Linked DNA regions of Homo sapiens: region 2 is linked to region 1. The links are contacts of gene promoters, found by promoter capture Hi-C in blood cells and fetal thymus (Javierre and others, 2016). All regions are on one chromosome and are shown on one strand. Each heading gives the region's core, a stretch centred on a gene start or on the middle of the fragment in contact. The rest is flanking DNA. Distances are from core to core; before and after follow the strand shown.

What was found. The method cuts DNA at HindIII sites, captures the fragments that hold promoters and counts their contacts. A CHiCAGO score of 5 or more calls a contact.
Region 2: a fragment that was not itself captured here is called in contact with the fragment with the promoter of TRAIP in region 1 in 1 of 17 cell types (erythroblasts); the score reaches 5.4 in erythroblasts.

What each region holds. Positions count from the first base shown.
Region 1 is chr3:49,854,934-49,860,406 of GRCh38, forward strand. It overlaps TRAIP (TRAF interacting protein), which reads right to left and starts at 1,631. Exons shown (of 15, transcript NM_005879.3): 1 at 1,423-1,631. The coding sequence starts at 1,520. It overlaps CAMKV (CaM kinase like vesicle associated), which reads right to left. Exons shown (of 11, transcript NM_024046.5): 10 at 5,238-5,325; 11 at 3,056-4,948. The coding sequence ends at 4,385. The HindIII fragment of the contact is 3,060 bases long and covers 687-3,746 here.
Region 2 is chr3:49,509,845-49,515,159 of GRCh38, forward strand. DAG1 (dystroglycan 1) reads left to right here. Exons shown (of 3, transcript NM_004393.6): 2 at 575-975. The coding sequence starts at 691. Among named protein-coding and RNA genes, the nearest start is that of BSN-DT, 42 kb to the right of the region's middle. The HindIII fragment of the contact is 500 bases long and covers 1,057-1,556 here.

The DNA of each region.
Region 1 (5,473 bases), core at 381-2,880:
GGCGCCTGTAGTCCCAGCTACTTGGGAGGCTAAGATGGGAGAATCACCTTAGCCCAGGAGGTAGAGGCTGCAGTGAGCCGAGATGGCACCACTGCACTGCAGCCTGTGTAACAGAGTGAGACCCTGTCTCAAAATAAAATAAAATAAAGATCTTTGCAGTAAGCTAAAGTACTTTTTAATATACAAAAAAAGAAATAAATGCTGTTTCAAGGGATACATGTAAAACACAAGGACACAGAAAAGTTTAAAGTAAAAGGATAGGCCCTAGCACTTTGAGAGGCCAAGGTGGGTGGATCACCTGAAGTCAGGAGTTCGAGACCAGCCTGGCCAACATGGAGAAACCCTGTCTATGAAAAACACAAAAATTAGCTGGGCGTGGTGGCGCACGCCTGTAATGTCAGCTACTTGGGAGGCTGAGGAAGGAGAATCACTTGAACTCAGGAGGTGGAGGTTGCAGTGAGCCGAGATCACGCCACTGCACTCCAGCCTACACGACAGGAGCGAGACTCCATCTCAAAAATAAAATAAAATAAAAATAAATAAATAAAGTAAAAGGATAGAAGAAAATAGAGTAGGCAAACAGAAAATAGAGTACGCTTAGAGGCGAGCTTAATTTCTAGTCTAACCAAACAGCAGTGGCTCCCTCAGCATGGGGCTCAGGCTGTCAGCAACACAGGCCTAAACAAAGCTTTGCAAGTAAGCCAGCAGCCATCAGTGTCATGCCTGCCTTTCTGCTTCCTAGGGCCTTTAGCCCCACAAGACCCTGTGATTATTATCACCCACCATTCCCAGGGGTAACGCTGCCTTATCTCTTTTGCTAGGAGGTCCAAACCGGCCTGTCCACATCTGCTAGGGGAATCTTTCCCCACTAGCTGTACACTCAACAGAATGGCCCTACACGGTCAGCAGGACCCCTGGATAGGGGAGCATCTCCTTGCCTTCCCCATGTTAAACGGGTTTGCTGACATGGCGAATACATTGGGGTGTCTGGACAGTGAGATGACTCTGGGTAGAATAATTCCAAACCATCAAGTAAGGCACAGCAAACTCTCTTGGGTAGCCAGAAGCCTAGCAGGTTTCTATCTGGAAGAAATAAAAGGACTTGTTGATGTGGTGAAAGCTCACCCTTGCCCAGGCTAACGGTTTTGAAATCACATCTGTTTGTATAGGTGATCAAGGAAGCATCTATCTTCACTGAGCCATCTTAGTCCCCCTCAGGCTTAGCTCAGCTATCACCTCTACCAGAAAGCCTGTCCTGACCCACTTCTGCCCAGGTTGGGAAGCTCCCGTGGGGCCTCGTCTAGGAGGAAGGTTCTCATCACTTGTCTGGATTCCGGGGTTGGACCGCCTGGAGGCCCAACACCTCAAGGCCCTGAAGCGGTACCCGGGCAAACACCGGGCCCCAACACTGCAGTCACTCACCACTGCAAGTGGAAGGTGTGGCCGCAGTGGATGGCGGCCACGTCGCGGGAGTGATCGAAGAAGTCGGAGCAGATAGTGCACAGAGCACGGATAGGCATGATGGCTGGACTCAAGGGGCCCAGGCAGCCAAAGAAACTGCTACAGGTCCGGCTTCGTAGACGCGCCCCCGCGCCTCCGCTTGCTTCAAATTTGGCTCCGCAGCACGACTTCCTGGAGCGGGCCGGAAGTGACAACACAAAACTTTGGGCGGAGCGTGAATACTTCGCCTGGATTGGACAAATTCTCGGATGGGCGGAACTATGGGCGGGGCTTAGCGGCCCCGAGGCCGTAGAGAATCCTGGGCGGAGCGCGGTCGCTCTCAGGCGTCCTCTGGGGAGACTCGACCTGCCACTTGAGAGCGCAGCATTATATCAAGGCGGGGAGCAGCGAGGCTGCCAGCTGGACCCTTTTCCAGGGCAAGGCAGCGCATTGTGGTCCCATGCCAGAGCTGGCGCGAGGCAGGCTGGGCCAAGGCAGAGAAAACCGCAGCCGCAAGGGAATAGAACAATGGTCCCGATGGGTCCCTTGGGCTCTGGACAGTGATGGACCATGCGCTATGGTCTGTAGTTCCCATAGACCACAATACCCTACCCTCTCAGTCCTCAGTTCCGGGCGATTCTAGAAAGATGGACACATAGGCCCCAGTCCCTCAGGTCACCCCAGGCCAACCTTGGCTTCATCCAAGTAAGATATGACTATCCTTGAGTTTGGAGACACTAGGGCCAGTACCCTGACTTTAGCTCTTAGCTCTCAGGAGGATCAGTTATGCTTGAGACTGTAGTAGGGTTGGAATTTTGGAGGCCCAGATGCTTCAAAGACTAGAGACTAACAAATCCTTTTTATTATTCCCACATCAGAGAAGTTATCTTTGAGGAGGTTATCTTTGAGGTCCTCCCAGAGAGCAGCATCCCTGGTGAGTTCACCCAGGCCCACCTGGGCTGGAGTAAGTCAACTTTTGGGTTTTTAGGCTTAGTATCTGTGGCAGTGTTACTCCCTCTACCCAGAAGAAACCCTGTGCATAGTCCCATAATATAAAGCTGATCTGCTCCAGCTGAAATAGACCCAGAGTGAGATTTCATTTGGGGCATAGGTGGAAAGCACAGGTGTTCACAGAAAGAAGGAATCAACACAGAGCAGCATAGAATCTTTGTGCATTGCTCACCCTACACCCTCTCCCTAGCTCAGGGAAGCTATCTTTGGCTATGAGCAGGGTCTGTCCTTGCGGTGGCTGGCCCAGGTAGATTCCAGCTCTATGCCTAAATCAAGAGTAAGGCTCCTCGGTCAACAGGAGTCAAAAACAGCAGCCCTTACTTGAGCTCTCAGCCCAGGGAGTATTCCTTGGTCCAAATGCAGCCCAAGACCCACTACTCACATGGATTTCTAGAGTTCAGAGGACCCCCACCACCACCACCATTGAGGAATACACTGTGGTGAGGATGATCTTCACCCTCAGCCCAAGAAATCCACAGGGCACTGTTCACTACTACTCCCAGCCACTACTTGTGAACCTGCTCCCAGCCTCTCCCTTCCCCACTGCCTTCCAGGGGCTCCTCCCCAGTAGGACAGAGGAAGCAAAGGCGAGAGGGTGGCCAGAGGCTTTGCAGGGTGATGTTTATTTGCCAGGTTCAGTAGGCACACAGTTAACCCACCGACCTTCACACACCAGAGCAGACCCACAGGCATGCAGGGAGAAGGGCAGGACCACCACGGAGTGCCGAGCAAGGGCGAGGACCAATGTGGCTGCCTATCCAGGCTGTGGTAGGGTCTGACAAAGGGCACCTGTCAGGAGCCTCCCTCAGGAAACTGGGGAGTTTAACCCTACTTCCTCATCCCAGAAAAAGCAACTCAATGTGGCTCTGAGGCACCTGGGCCTCTGATAGAAGTGAGCTGTAGAAAGAGGGAGTTCCTCTTCATTTCATTGTTGAACTGAGCAGAAAATCTGCCCCTGTAAAGGGCAAACCTCCAAATCAGATTATGAGTTATTGCCATGCAGCAAGCCCCCTAGGGTGGAGAGGACTTGTGGGCTGAGATTGTAGGAGGTGGGCATCTAGGAAGAGCAAGGAGGTATCAGCCCTCCCTGTTTGGCCCAGGGTAAGGACCCAGTAAGGCTGGGACACTGGGTGCTGGGCTTGTACTCTGCCCTGCCAGGTCTCATTGCCACGTCCTAATTGTTCCTCCTTTCCCTTAGAGGCTCATGAGGTTCAGGGTACAGGGCAGCCCACTGCAGGACTCGGAAAGGCAGGAAATAACACAAATAACAGGGTCTTAGGAAGGACAAAAATGGAAGCTTCTGCCCTCCTACTCATTCTCTCCACTCCTGAGGACCTCCACAGCTAGTGAGCAGTATCCCTAGCCATGTGCCAAGTCTGGACTTAAACATACTGCCCTACCTTTCTGCATCCTCTATACCAGCCTGTATCTGCTCCTAGAGCAGCCCACACACCACAGGCACACACCTTCATGTGCAGGAGCCTAAGACCGCTGACAGGGCCTCGCTGGAGGACCAGCTCTCAGGGCAAGGCCGCCCAAGTTTAGGGCCTGGGAGAGTGTGGGACCTGCAGGGCCTGCCTAGGGGAATGGTGAGGCAAGAAGGGAAGGGGAAGGAGAGCAGGAGCCCCCTGAGTATCCCTAGAGCAGCATCCCACAAGGAACAGAAACTGGTGAAGCTAGCAAAAGACAGAAAAGCCACAAGGAATCCATGCAGGGGCTGGGGCCGGCCCTGCCACTGGCCTGCCCACCACTCACACACATACACACAGGAGACGAGACTGCTCTCCCGTGACCCCTAGTTATGCCCCACTGGGATGTGGGGGCATGGGGGAGCGAGGGCATCATGCCAGTGACTCTATGTACAGTGAGAAGCCCCTCATCCACTCTCCCACCCTCCTGCCCATCCCCTGCCCCCCCTCACCAGGCTGCCTACTCAGCTGGCCTCCTCCCTTTGAGACTCCTGGGCATAACCAGCAGCCTCTTCCCCTTTACTAGAGGGTGGAGCCTGGCCTGTGGCGCCCTCTGGGGCTGTGCTGTCCGGCTGGGCCATAGCCGGCTCAGGGGTGGCAGCTGCCTTGGTGGCCAGCATGGCACTGCTTTGGGTGGTGGGCACAGTGCTCTCTTCTGTGGCTGGTGTGGCTCTCCCATCAGTGGCTGGAGTAGCGCTCCTGTCAGTGGCTGGGGTGACACTCCCATCAGTGGCTGGAGTGATGCTTCCATCGGTGGCTGGGGTGACACTGCCATCAGTGGCTGGGGTGGCACTTCCATCTGTGGCTGGGGTGGCACTACGGTCTGCGGGGGCCACATTATCACTCTTTGCAGCACGAGCAGCATCACCCTCAGGGGCTGAGGTAGCTCCACTCGCAGCTGCAGCTGTGGCCCCACCTGCAGCCCCGGGGGTGGCAGTGTCTGTGGCTGAGGCCGACTGGGCTGCAGCCGTGCTGGACTGCTCTGGTGCCCGGAGCCGTTTCATGAGGGTGGTCACTCGGACAGCCTTCTGAAAGGAGCACAGTGGAGAAAGGCTAAGGGTGAGGCTTGCTGGATCCATTGCTTGGCAGTGACCAAACCAAACTCCTTCCATAGTACCCCCGGCCACCTCCATCCACCCCAGGGCCAAGTACTCAGCTGCTCAGCACTCCTACTTAAGGTAATCACAGTGGCTACACCCACACCTGATGGCCTGAGAAAAGCTTGTGTGTGGCTGCAGGGGTGTGATGCAGGCAAGAAACTGAGTGCCAGAAGCAATACTTGGGATAGAGCCAAGAAGGGAGTTATCCAAGCCTTACCTTCCACTTGGCCCTGGCAAAGTTCTTTTCAATCTGGGCACAGACACCATCCTTGATGTTCTTATCAGAAGCAGCATTGCCAGAAATCCTGGAAAGGGTGCAAGTGTGTCTGGATCTGAGAGAATGAGCCTTTGTGGAGACTCTGCTCAGCCCTTCTATGTGGCATCCAGGGACTACCAGGCAGAGCCTCTGGGCTGCCCTGAGCTCTAGGTACCTGCACCCCTTCCAGGCCTCAA
Region 2 (5,315 bases), core at 57-2,556, 350 kb before region 1:
CAGCTTCCTCAGTAGCTGGGATTACAGGCACCCACCACCATGCCCGGCTAATTTTCATATTTTTAGTAGAGATGGGATTTTACCATGTTGGCCAGGCTGGTTTCAAACTCCTTACCTCAAGTCATCCACCCACCCTAGTCTCCCAAGATGCCAGGATCATAGGCGTGAGCCACGGTGCCCGTCTTGTTTAATACATTTCTTTATTATTTATTCTTTGTTAATACTTATTGTTTACTTAATATATTTTATTGAATGTATCTGACTGTATTCAAAATATTACTAATACATATCATTTCAGTTTGCAATCAATATTTTAAAAGTATTAATGAGGCATTTTACATTCATTTTTTATGAAGTTTTCAAAATCCAGTGTATATTTTATATTTAATGGATCAGCTACATTTCCAGTGCTAAGGAGTTGCACGAAACTGTTGGTTTCTGTATAAGAGACCATGGGGGTAAGAGGCTTGATCCAACTCGGGGTAGATGTTTTTGACAGTAACTCCTGGAGGATAGTATGTGACTGAACCACTGGAATTGCTCAAGTCTAAACCTGCTTTTCTTTTTTTTTCAGGCTCTGTGTGCTCCGGGATGGAGCAGGTGTGCAGAGGGTGAGAACCCAGCTCTGGGACCAAGTCACTTGCTTCCTTACTTAGCAAGACTATCGACTTGAGCAAACTTGGACCTGGGATGAGGATGTCTGTGGGCCTCTCGCTGCTGCTGCCCCTCTCGGGGAGGACCTTTCTCCTCCTGCTCTCTGTGGTTATGGCTCAGTCCCACTGGCCCAGTGAACCCTCAGAGGCTGTCAGGGACTGGGAAAACCAGCTTGAGGCATCCATGCACTCAGTGCTCTCAGACCTCCACGAGGCTGTTCCCACAGTGGTTGGCATTCCTGATGGCACGGCTGTCGTCGGGCGCTCATTTCGAGTGACCATTCCAACAGATTTGATTGCCTCCAGTGGAGATATCATCAAGGTGAGACTGGATATAAAGCATAAATGAGGAAGAGTTCTCATTTTCCATTTTAGTTTTGGTGGCTTTTCCTTTTCAAGTCTAAGCTTCACCAATTCTGAGCTCAGTTCTTCCAGTACCCCCTTAGAAGAGGGACAGCCACTGATGTTCATAAGAGAATCCCTATATACTCAGAATAGCATCCTAAACTGTATTCTTGTTCCTATTCTGAGGGCATCACCATGTAATAGCCTTTACTCTGGAAGTTCTACTGAACACTGATTTAGGGATTTGTTGGAAAGGTCTGTCACGTGTATAGGGAAAGGTTACCTTTAATAAAACACAGAGTTAAACCCCAAAAAATAGGACTTTTATGCTTTGAACTTACTTTTTAAAATAAGATATAAATAAATATAGGAGTTCTGCTCTGATTTGCTGATGTATGTTGGCTAATGTAATTGATCACTTAAGAACCAAAATTAGTACCCAAACTTCAGCCTTGCCCCATATCCTTTGGAGAAGCCATCCAGAGAACAATGGAATCTGAGGCCCGTGTAGAGAAGAGTGTCTTGGTTGACCCAGGATAGAAATCAGGTGAAATAGGAAGCTTTTGTGTGATGAAGCACCATCTCTCTGTCTGAGTTTGTGGAACCATGGAATTTCCCCTAGATCTTAAATGAGTTTGTTTCATGGACAGGTGGGTGGGATGTACCCCTCAAGTTATGAACATCTTCTAGAGCAGAAGTCAGCACACTTCACCCAAGCTGGAGTGCACTGGCATGATCATGTCTCACTGTAGCCTTGACCTCCCAGGCTCAAGTGATCCTCCCACCTCAGCCTCCCAAGTAGCTGGGACTATAAGCACATATCAGCACACCTGGCTAATTTTTGTACTTTTTGTAGAGATAGGGTTTTGTCATGTTGCTCAAGCTAGTCTTGAACTCCTGAGCTCAAGCCATCTTCCTGCCTTGGCCTCCCAAAGTGCTGGGATTGCAGGCATGCACCACTGCACCAAGCTCCAGGCAGTAAATATTTTAGGCTTTGCAGGCCATATGGTTTCTGTCAGAACTCCTCGACTCTGCCTGTGTAGTGTTAAAGTAGCCTTTACAATATATAAATCAATGGGCAATAAAACTTTACGGTGGATACTTTTTCTTTTTTAATTTTTTACACTTATAGTCCCATTCTGACTTGAAACAGATTTTTGAATTTCATATGTCAAGAAAGAAATATTCTTTTACAATTTTTTTTTTTGAGGCAGGGTCTTGCTCTGTTGTTCAGGCTGGAGTGCAGTGGTACAGCCATGGCTCTCTGCAGCCTTAACCTCCCAGGCTTAAGCCTTCTTCCCTCTTCAGCCTCCCAAGTAGCTGGGACTACAGGTGTGCACCACCACACCCAGCTAATTTATTTATTTATTTATTTTTGAGACAGAGTTTCGCTCTTGTCGCCCAGGCTGGAGTGCAATGGCACAATCTTGGCTCACTGCAACCTCCGCCTCCTGGGTTCAAGTGATTCTCCTGCCTCAGCCTCCTCAGTAGCTAGGATTACAGGCGCACGTCACCACGCCCAGCTAATTTTTAAATTTTAATTTATTTTAATTAATTAATTAATTTTGAGATGAAGTCTCTCTCTGTCACCCAAGCTGGAATGCAATGACACAATCTCAGCTCACTGCAACCTCCATCTCCCAGATTCAAGTGATTCTCCTGCCTCAGCCTCCCAAGTAGCTGGGATTACAGGTGCGCACCACCATGCCCGGCTAATTTTTGTATTTTTAGTACTGACGGGGTTTCACCATGTTGGCCAGGCTGGTCTCAAACTCCTTATCTCGGGTGATCTGTCTGCCTCAGCCTCGCAACACCCAGCTAATTAAAAAAAAATTTTTTTTTAGTTTGGGCGTGATGACTTACACCTGTAATCCTAGCACTTTGGGAGGCTGAGGGAGGCAGATTGCTTGAGCCCAGGAGTTTGAGACCAGCCTGGGCAACATGGTGAAACCCCAACTCTACAAAAAATACAAAAATTAGTTACAAAAAATTTTTTTTAGATAGGGTCTTACTCTGTCTGCCAGGCTGGTCTCAAACTTCTGGTTCCTGCCCTACAGCATTCCTTCTCTAGAGGTGTGGCCTACATGTGAACTAAAAGTATTCTGAGACCTATACTTTGTTAGGTATTTTCTGTATGATCTCTGCATTCAGACTTCTACATACATTTAGTGCTCTGGCTTTCTGTTGGTGTGTTTAAACCACCAAAACAGTGGTTTAACTCAACCAGCTTGTTTTACTCAACATTTTTTGGCCAGGAATTCAGAGATAAGGAACCTTATCTCTGTTTCACATGGTACTAGGTAGAGTGGCTCACCTGGGGCTGGGGAATTCACTTCTAAGTTGGCTCATTCATGGCTGGCAAGTTGATGCTGCCTGTTGACAGGGAGCTTAGCTGGGGCTGTTGGTCAGTGTCCTTGATTCCTCTTCATGTAGACCTCTCCATGGGCTGCTTAGGTGTCCTCAAAGCACGATAGATGGATTTTAAGATTAGGTATTTCAAGAAATAGGAAAGGAAGCTGCCCAATCTCTTAAGGCCCAGAACTTGCCCAACAACACTTCCATTTTACTCCATTGGTCAAAGCACATATAGACTCTGATGGGTGTTTACCAGCTTGCCCCCGTGACCCGTAAGCCCCAGGCTTCTAGATTAGAAATGGCCACAAGTTCTATGCCACTCTTTCCTTGCAGAGGTGAGTCTGTGCCCTTTTCCCTGAATCTGGGTGGACCTCCCCTTCAGCCTGCTCCCTTCTTGTGTTCGCCTCCTTTTCCCTGTTGGTCACCTTCTTTTTAAGCCGTGGCTTGTTCTCAGAGTGACCTTGTGGTCTCTGGGGCAACCGTATTTCTGAAGATCTTGGCCCATGTAGCAGCTCACATGTAGCAGTTCACAGAGCTCTTCCTAGTTTGCAGAGTGTTTGCATAAAGTTTCCTTGTCATCTTTGTAATATCCCAGCAAGCTAGATGCTAATCTGACCATTAGATACAGAGTGGTGGCTCTGGAAGGTACATTTCTTGCTCAGCTTCAGATTTAATCCTGAATATCCATACCCTGCATTGGTTGCCTTTGTTCCAGTAGCCATTGGAATGTTTTACGTGGATTAATCTTGGCCAGAAGTGCCTTGAACTGATACAGCAAACTAGATATTTGTTGTATTTGGCAGAGAGATGTTTAACAGGCTTATTTACCAAGGGGGTGAAGAGATTTTACTGAGAAAACAGGATTTTATCTGAGCATATTTATCTGTGGAAAGCAGACCATTTAGTAGCTGATGAGCTTGTAGAAAAACAGATGAAGATGTGTGACTCTTCGTTCCAGTCTTAACCACCGGGATTATATGGGTTGGGGAGTCAGAAGGTCAGAAAGCCTGATCTTGTTCCTAGAGCTTTGGTTTCTGCATCTGTAAAGCAGGATTTAGAAAGTCTTTATATTAAAGGAATTTTTTTCTTATTATAATAATGATGCATAAATGTACATTGTGGAAAATATAGAAAGGGAAAAAAAATCTGTGGTTTCTACCATTCAGAGTGAAGTCCTCTACCGTTTTCTATGCTCATCAAGAGATGGTCATGCCACATACACACACAGACGTCTTAACATATTAGACAGACCTAGGATCATAGTGGATATATTTTTTAACCTTTTTTTTTTGAGACAGAGTCTCACTTTGTTGCCCAGGCTGGAGTGCAGTGGCACAGTCCCGGCTCACTGCAACCTCCACCTCCCGGGTTCAAATGATTCTCCTGCCTCCATCTCCCGAGTAGCTGGGACTACAGGCATGCGCTACCACACCTGGCTAATTTTTGTGTTTTTTTGGGGGGATGGAGTTTCGCTCTTGTCGCCCAGGATGGAGTACAATGGCGTGATCTTGGCCTACTGCAACCTCCGCCTCCCGGGTTCAAGCGATTCTCCTGCCTCAGCCTCCTGAGTAGCTGGGACTATAGGCTTGAACCACCACTCCTGGCATATGTGTGTGTGTGTGTGTGTGTGTGTGTGTGTACACATACATAGACACACACACACATATATATATATTTTTTGAGATGGAATCTTGCTCTTTCGTCCAGGCTGGAATGCAGTGGCGTGATCTCAGCTCAGTGCAACCTCCGCCTCCTGGGTTCAGGCTATTCTTCTGCCTCAGCCTCCTGAATAGCTGGGACTACAGGCATGCGCCACCACACCCGGCTAGGGTTTCACCATATTGGCCAGACTGGTCTCAAACTCCTGACCTCGTGATCCGCCCACCTTGGCCTCCCAAAGTGCTGGGGTTACAGGGGTGAGCCACCTTGCCCAGCCCACGTTTTGTATTTTTAGTAGAGATG